Linked DNA regions of Homo sapiens: regions 1 and 2 are each linked to region 3. The links are contacts of gene promoters, found by promoter capture Hi-C in human tissues and cell types (Jung and others, 2019). All regions are on one chromosome and are shown on one strand. Each heading gives the region's core, a stretch centred on a gene start or on the middle of the fragment in contact. The rest is flanking DNA. Distances are from core to core; before and after follow the strand shown.

The links. Contacts are between HindIII fragments. The study calls those that stand out against the background at their distance.
Region 1: a contact is called between the fragment with the promoter of DENR here and a fragment that was not itself captured in region 3, in 3 of the 25 tissues and cell types used here (bladder, dorsolateral prefrontal cortex and heart left ventricle).
Region 2: a contact is called between the fragment with the promoter of OGFOD2 here and a fragment that was not itself captured in region 3, in 3 of the 25 tissues and cell types used here (IMR-90 fibroblasts, dorsolateral prefrontal cortex and lymphoblastoid cells).

What each region holds. Positions count from the first base shown.
Region 1 is chr12:122,751,560-122,754,259 of GRCh38, forward strand. It overlaps DENR (density regulated re-initiation and release factor), which reads left to right and starts at 1,265. Exons shown (of 8, transcript NM_003677.5): 1 at 1,265-1,391; 2 at 2,134-2,248. The coding sequence starts at 2,143. RefSeq lists enhancers at 1-622, 1,714-1,773 and a silencer at 1,524-1,573. The HindIII fragment of the contact is 19,306 bases long and covers 1-2,700 here.
Region 2 is chr12:122,973,919-122,976,618 of GRCh38, forward strand. It overlaps OGFOD2 (2-oxoglutarate and iron dependent oxygenase domain containing 2), which reads left to right and starts at 1,326. Exons shown (of 7, transcript NM_001304833.2): 1 at 1,326-1,465; 2 at 1,893-1,949. The coding sequence starts at 1,334. It also overlaps a transcript of ABCB9 not described here. RefSeq lists an enhancer at 771-1,230. The HindIII fragment of the contact is 12,569 bases long and covers 1-2,700 here.
Region 3 is chr12:123,621,272-123,624,012 of GRCh38, forward strand. It overlaps EIF2B1 (eukaryotic translation initiation factor 2B subunit alpha), which reads right to left. Exons shown (of 9, transcript NM_001414.4): 8 at 1,365-1,490; 9 at 1-649. The coding sequence ends at 485. Among named protein-coding and RNA genes, the nearest start is that of SNORA9B, 5.9 kb to the left of the region's middle. RefSeq lists an enhancer at 106-1,305. The HindIII fragment of the contact is 7,939 bases long and covers 1-2,741 here.

The DNA of each region.
Region 1 (2,700 bases), core at 15-2,514, 870 kb before region 3:
GGTACTTGAGATTAGGGAGTGGTGATGATTCTTAAGGCGCATGCTGCCTTCAAGCATTTGTTTAACAAAGCACATCCTGCACAGCCCTTAATCCATTTAACCCTCAGTTGACACAGCACAGGTCTCAGGAAGCACAGGGTTGGTGGTAGGGTTACAGATTAACAGCATCTCAAGGCAGAAGAATTTTTCTTAGCACAGAACAAAATGGAGTCTCTTATGTCTACTTCTTTCTACACAGACACAGTAACAATCTGATCTTTCTTTTCCCCATATATTCCCATACTCTTACATTTTTCTTTTTTTCATTAAAAAAAATTGTAGGCCGGGCGCGGTGGCTCACGCCTGTAATCCCAGCACTTTGGGAGGCGGAGGCGGGAGGATCCCTTGAGTCCGGGAGTTCGAGACCAGCCTGGACAGCATAGGGAGATTCCCCCACCTCTATAAACAAATTAAAAATTAGCTGGGTGTGGTAACGCGCGCCTGTATTCCCAACTACTTGGGAGGTCGAGGCTGCAGTGAACCGTGTTTGTGCAACTGCACTCCATCCAGCCTAGGTGACAGAGTGAGACCCTGTCAAAACATAAAGAAAAGGATGAAGGAAGGGAGGGAGGAAGGAAGGAAGGGAGGGAGGAAGGAAGGAAAGAAGGAAGGAAGGGAGGGAGGGAGGGAAGGGGAAGAAAGAGACAGAAAGAAGAGAAAGAAGAAAGAAAAGAAAGAACAGAAAAGAAAGAAAAAAGAATTCCTTTAATTTAGTGTATGGTGTTAAAACGCAACCAAACGCTCCATCCGGCGAAGAGAGAGAGAAAAGAAGAGAGGAAGGAAAGAAGGAAGGGAGGGAGGGAGGGAGGGAGAACACCTTCCTTTAATTCAGTGCATGGTGTTAAAATGCGACCAAACGCTCTATCCGGCTGCAATCTCCCCGCACGGGAGTGATTTATGCAGTAGCTGGAGGTTAGTCAGGACTCCAGGATGCACCGCAGACACCGAGGCGATGATCCTCGGACTCATTAATAGGGAGTCATTTGTGACTCAGGTGCGCTCTCTGCGTCTGCAAGTCACGTTCCCTTCGGCACGCCCATCTCGAGGATTCATCCTCTCCAACGGGTGACGAGCACCGCCTGCCGGCGGCCCGCCTCTCGGCCTCTTGGCCACGCCCCCCACCGGAGGGCAAGGCGCACGCTCCGCAATTTTTCTCCGCCCCCGTCTTCCGGCTTCTCGCGACATCCGCCCAGCGGCGGCCGGAATCTCGCGATAAAGGCTCATTGTCTCGCGGGAGCGCTGCTGGCGGTCGGGCGCTCGGGCGGCCCTGGCCGGGGAGACGAGTTGCATGTGTTGGTTCAGCTGGCGATAGCGGCGGGAGCGGAGCCGGCGGGGCCTGTGCGACCGCCTGGGTAACGACCCCAAGTGCTTCTCCCGCTCCCGAGAAGCTCGTAGAGAGTGTGGGGGAAGCTGAGATGCTGCCTGGCGGAAGGGGGCCGGGCCGGGCCTCTCCACACCCCCGCCCACAAGGGCCCCTTCTGGCGTCCCCGGGGTTGCTCCTTCGCCTCAGACCTGGTCGCCCTTGTCCCCTCAGTGCTCTTACATTCTGCGCTCGTTTTCTCTCCTCATCCTTCTTACGCTCTGGTTACCCCGCCCCCTCCCATGCCCTTTTTAGACTCCCCAGGCCCCTCTCATGGCGTTTAGTTGCCCCCACACCCTGCACCCCGGGCTTCTCCGATGACCCACCCCTTGTTCCTAGGCACTTCCAGCCTCTCTCCATTCGGCGCCTTTGTAGCCCTTCTCTCACTGCAGTTTGCATCCCTCCCAGATCACCCTCAGACCTTTTTGCTCCGTGTCTGCCGTGGGTACTCACCCCATCTTTCCTTCCCCATTGCTTCCTGTTTTTCTCTAGTGAGTCCCTCTGCCCCATCCTTCATGGTCCATTTGCTGCTTGCTTCCCTGTAGACCTGTGGAGCAAGGAGATGTTGTGCCTGGGATTGCTCATATTTTATGAATCGAATGCAGCTTGTATCCCCCACTCAACAACAGACTTGAAACAGCTTTGGGGTGGGGAGGTTTCTGTTGAGAGGAACACTGCTCTTCTGGGGTCTTGATTCTAAAATAGTGAGGGTGTGTTATTTTCCTTGCTTACAGGTTTGTGAAATGGCTGCTGACATTTCTGAATCCAGCGGGGCTGACTGCAAAGGAGACCCAAGGAACAGTGCCAAGTTAGATGCCGATTACCCACTTCGAGTCCTTTATTGTGGAGGCAAGTGTTGGTAGCCACAGAATGACTTTTACTCACTATACTTTTATGCATTGTAATAACAGTTTGACATTTGGTAAGCTTTCTTCCCCATCCTTTTCATTTGGTGAGTTTGTACTGGGGGAGAGGAGTCCTGGGGAGGAGGAGGCATGAATTAACAGAGTTTCCCCACCTGGGTGATTTGTGTCTGGCTACTCTGCCTGAAGAAGCTTACAGTCCATTTGTAACAGGATGTGCAACTAGGTTATTTCAGCCTGAAGGTCCTCAAGGTGTATGCTAGTCTAGCTGTCAAAGGAGGGCTTCTTGGAAGATTATGAGTTAAGGATGGCAAGGACTGGATGAGAAGGTGGGGAACGGCGTCCCAGACAAAGCGCACGACTATGTAAGAAAAAGCTTGATGGCTGTCTGTGAAGAAGTGAGCAGCTTTGAGTTTGTCTGGTGTATCGTATAGGGAG
Region 2 (2,700 bases), core at 76-2,575, 650 kb before region 3:
CCGATAATCCCAGCTATTCGGGAGGCTGAGGCAGGAAAACTGCTTGAATCCGGGAGGCAGAGGTTGCAGTGAGCGGAGATCGCGCCACTGCACTCCAGCCTGGGTGAAACTCTATCTCAAAAAGTAAATAAACAAATAAATAAACTGATAGGTACAACACACTCATCTTGCAAACTGCTGCAAACGGAGAGGGGGTGAGGGTGGGGTGGGGTGCTGCATGTGCCAGGCCTGCCTGGTGGGTGGCTGGGGAGCCGACCTGCCCTGGGCCTCCTGGGGAAAAAGGGCAGTTAGGCGGGTAATGAACATTGATCTGGGGAAATGGATCCTTTCCTAGATAGCAGGGCCTCTCACTATCACTGGGCAATCAAGACGACTGTAAAACGTTAAACACCTTCTCGGGCCGGGCAGCTCTGCACGAGAAAACCCCAAATCCCACATACTTCCACCACTCCCAGAAGCCCTGTGGTGGTTAACTGGGGAACTCTGTAGGGTTCAAACGCCATATTTGCCCCTTACTGGATGTGTGACCTGCGGCGGGTCCCTGTGCCTCTCTGGGTCTCAGTTTCCTCATCTGTAAGACGGTGATATAATAGTACCTAGCTCAAAGGTTTAATGCTGGTAGATTCCTGAGCAAAGGTCCGGGGAGAGAAGAGGCTCGGTCTGCAAGAGTTGTCATTTGTTGGCTGCGGTGAGACCACGCCCCGTCGCCCTCCCACACCTGACCCCGCCCTCCCGCGTCCATTGGGAACGCCACCGGAAGTAATGCGAGACGGAGCGTTTTGGTGGAGACACTCACTGGGGCAATCTGAGGTAATCCAACAGACTGTGGCGGAGGGACCGGAAGCGCCAGGCAGGGACCCGGGGTAGATGCTAAATCCAAACTGAAACGTACAGGGCTGGATGATTGAAGCACCAGCGGGAACTAGTCGGACCTCCGAGCTCTTTAAACTGTCCTCAGCTCGGCTGGTTCTCCACGAGCTCCGGGCAGACGGCGGGGGGTGGGTCGGCGTTTAAGTCAAAGGCCTTGGGGCTCCGAGTCCCTTCCTCTCCCCGTCCTGTGAAGGCACGACCCAGTTCAGCTGTCTGTAAAGTGGAGCCATTAGTCCCTGCCTCGTAGTGGGAAAACTGGGAGGCGGAACGAGGAGGCCGCCGGTCCCAACCCGGCCCAGGAGCATCTTTCTCCGCAGACCGTTTCCTGGCGAGGTGCGTCTTCGTCCTTTTCCGCCCTTGGGAACTTAGAGCGGCCCCTTGGCCGCTGGTTCCGCGCCTCCCGCGGTTGGGGGCGTGCCCGAAGTCTCTCTACGGAAGCTGGTAGGGCTGTGGGTGCTTCACTATGGCGACGGTGGGGGCTCCGCGGCACTTCTGCCGCTGCGCCTGCTTCTGCACCGATAACTTGTACGTGGCGCGCTATGGGCTGCACGTGCGCTTCCGAGGCGAGCAGCAGCTGCGCCGGGACTACGGCCCGGTGAGTGGCCGCTGTCGTCCCTACGGAGCAGTGGGCAGAGAGGGGTAGTGGAGGAGGGAAGTTCGTCCCCAGGGTCGTTTGCTTTGCGCACGCCGCGCACCGTATCTTCAAATACAAGAATGACGGCCTCTCTCTGCCTCGGTTTTCTCACCGTAAAGGGGTAATAGTATCTCCCTGTGAGATTGTGAGGAAGGAATGAACAAGCATGTAGGGTGCTTAGGACAGGGCCGGGCTCAGCTTGCCGCCTCACAGCAACACCAGCCCGGAGCCCTGTCCTGAGCTTGACAGGGTTCCGCAGTTCATTCTCTCCATGATCCTTTGAGGTCGGGGCTCCTCTCCCCATTTTAAGCAGGGGAAACTGAGGCTTAGAGAGTGAAGGGATTTCCTCAGGTCATACAGTCATGCTCAGTGTTCTTTCTGCTCCCAGATCCTGCGCAGCCGAGGCTGTGTTAGCGCCAAGGACTTCCAGCAGCTGTTAGCAGAGGTACCAGTCCCCTGCCCCTGCACAGCTCCTCCTCGTTAGATTTGTGTCCGCAGCTTGAGGACACAGCTTGAGCCTAGCCTCAGTCCCTGATCCCTGAAGGGTCACTTAGGCCCTCACTTTCCTCCTTCCTGCCCCCCACTCATCCCTCCACACCTGAGTCTTGGCACCAGGAGAGAGAAGGGGAAATGCTAAGTTGCTAAGTTGCCTAGTCATGCCGTTCTTAACAGCTCTGTGAGATAAGCACAAGCACCACTCTCATTTTGGATTGAGAAGCTGAGGCTTAAAGAGGGATCCCTTGCCCAAGCTTTTACAGCAGGAGCAGATGTGATCCCAGCCACAGCTTCCAGGCCCCTGGGCTCCTCACACCTTACCATATACCCCGCAGGCTGCTGCCAGGGCTGCTGCCCCACTCCCTCCTCCTCCTTCCCCTGGAGTCAGTGGTGGGAAGCTTCCCAGGAGAGTCCTCAGCAACCTCTGGAACACAGGACTTGGCCATGACTGTCTCCTGTCCCTGTGTGGGCCCAGATGGTTGAGGTACATCTAGGGGTTCTCATCCCAGCTAGGCTCAGGTTGGGGCAGCCTGAAACAGGATGGGTCCCCTTCTAGAAGTCCCTTTCAGCTAACAGTCTGGAACTTGCAGTTGACCCAGATAGATTCAGGAGTGTAGGCTAGACTTGGCTTCCAGCCTGGGCCCTGTCTGGCGTTCTGGGCTTCAGTTTCTTCATCTGTACAGTGGCCTCAGGAGGATGGG
Region 3 (2,741 bases), core at 233-2,732:
GCTTACCACTGGAAGCCAGATGCAGATTCAGCAAGTGTTTCTTGCCTCTTACAAGGCACCGCGTGTAACGTCCTGACCAGCTGTTGGTCATTTGTGGCAGAGGGGTGTGGCTGCTTTTCGCCTGCATCTCGCGTGCTTTAGGCAGATCAGTCTGGAGTGCAGGGGAGGATGAAGACAGGTGGACTTGGGCTCATCTTTCATCAGTTAAGTAGCCAATTATCTAACTTGTATTTCTGGAAACTGAAAAGGAAAGTTTCTAGAAACCGTAAGAACAATTTAAGTTGGGATTTAGAATAGCTGACACATTTTTAGATGGGACTGAAATGAGTAAGAAAGGTTCTCCAAGATGTATGATTTTAAGTCCTTACTCCATAAATCTTCATTAAACACATCTCAGTTTTGGCCTGACTCACTGGGGTGTCAAGCAGCTACTCACCCTGCCTCAACTACGTAAGCTGCACCTTGGCAGGAAAGGGCTCACAGGTTACAGATAGAGCTTGATGAGCTCATCGCTGACTGCTGAGGGTGTCAGCACGCCCAGGTCTGTAAACAGCAGAGTGATTAAGGAAGGGGCAGTGTAGTCGACCCACGGATGCTCCTCTTTGAGGTCTTGTCCAGTCTGCGCGACCTTGAGAGTGTCTGCCTTATACTGAGGAGAGAAGTACACATTAGTCGGCACTGAATATTTAGTGCTCTGACCTGGTAGGGCCTTGGTGTGAGTGATCAGTGTGCTACTTCCTGAGACTGCTCTCTGAAAATGGGAGAAACTAAGCTATGCAGGACACTAGAGACGAGGGCAGAGTTGTGGCCATGAGCCAGATCATGGCAGTGTGCTGGCTGAGAGCTGTAGTGTAACAAACTTAAATCCCATGTCCCCTCATTCTCATGCCGGATTAACTTCTCCAGACCTCTCAAGGGAAGATCGAGAGTCACAATAGAGAGCTTGCAGCGTGCCAGGGACTGTGCTAAGATTATCTTAGAATCCTCATGACCCTGTCAGATACTGCTATGCCATTTTACAGACAAGAAAACCGGTTCAGAGGTTGAAATGAAAGGACTTGCCTCAACTCGCACAGTTTGTAAGTTGTGGTGATGGGAGCTGAGCTCAGTTAAGCCCAAAGCTGGGACTTACCCACCAGCTTCGGGCTTCCTCTCCACCCATCTATGGTGCTACTTAAAGAGACTGAAAGACTGAAGTTCTAGGGACAAATGTGTGAGTCCAATCACCAATTTATCTTTGTATTCCAAGTGTTGGGGAAAGTAGCAATAGGAAGTGAAAAAATTACTGGAACATTCTTAGGACTACAATTTCCAAAGGTTTCTGTTTAGACTTTAGTACCCCTTCAAATATGTAAAACTCTTGCCTTAAACTTATCTGGGACGTCTTGCTGGTTTAGTGGAAAGAGCCGGACAAACTTGAAACTTTCTGCAACCACATAGAAAGGTTTGTTCTGTGCTTTGGCACACACAGCCATCTGGTTGGTTCCAATCTGGGAAGGCAGAAAATGGAATGGATGAGCTCTAGAGTGCATCTGAAGTAGAAGCCACAGAAAAGCGGGCCGGGCACAGTGGTGCATGCCTGTATTCCAGCATTTTGGGAGGCCGAGGTGGGTGGATCACCTGAACCCATGAGTTTGGGACCAGCCTAGGCAACACGGTGAGACCTCGTCTCAATTACAATAAAGGAACAATTAAAAAACAGCAATAGAAAGTTATGTATATAATATAGATATACATATATCTAATACATATATTAGATATATCTAATTCTGACTTTGGAATCAAAAAAATAAATGTTTCTCAAAGGATATAGAAACAGCCACTAGAGGCTGGATGTGGTGGCTCACGCCTGTAATCCCAGCACTTTGGGAGGCCGAGGTGGGTGGATCACCTGAGGTCAGGAGTTTGAGACCAGCTGGCCAATATAGGGAAACCCCATCTCTACTAAAAATACAAAAAATTAGCTGGGCATGGTGGGATGGGGGGTGCCTGTAATCCCAGCTACTAGGGAGGCTGAAGCAGGAGACTCGCTTGAACCCGGGCACTGGAGGTTGCAGTGAGCCAAGACTGTGCCATTGCACTCCAGCCTGGACAGCAAGAGTGAAACTCCATCTCAAAAAATAAAAAAATTTAAAAAAACAAGTGTTGGCAAGGATGTAGAGAAATTGGAACCTTTGTGCTTTGCTAGTGGGAATGTAAAGTAGTGCAGCTGCTGTGGAAAATCATTAGTTTCTGAAAGTTAAATATATAGTTACCATGTGACTCAACACTCTGCCTGCAGACCTCCGCCTCCCAGGTTCAAGCGATTCTCCTGCGTCAGCCTGCCAAGTAGCTGGGATTACAGGCACCCGCCACCATGCCCAGCTAATTTTTTGTATTTTTAGTAGATATGGGGTTTCACCATGTTGGCCAGGCTGGTCTCGAACTCCTGACCTCAGATGATCTACCTGCCTCAGCCTCCCAAAGTGCTGGGATTATAGGCGTGAGCTACTACGCCCGGCCTTATGTTACATATATTTTAACTAAAAAAAGCTTTCATGAAGCTTTTCTAAATTAAATAATGGAGAGAGAGATTGTAATAAATTGAGGTCAAATGTGCTCAATTAAAATGAAAACAAATGACAGGCCGGCCACAGTGGCTCATGCCTGTAATCCTAGCACTTTGGGAAGTGGAAAGATTGCTTCAGGCTAGGAGTTCAAGACTGCAGTAAGCTATGATCACTGTACTACACTACAGCCTG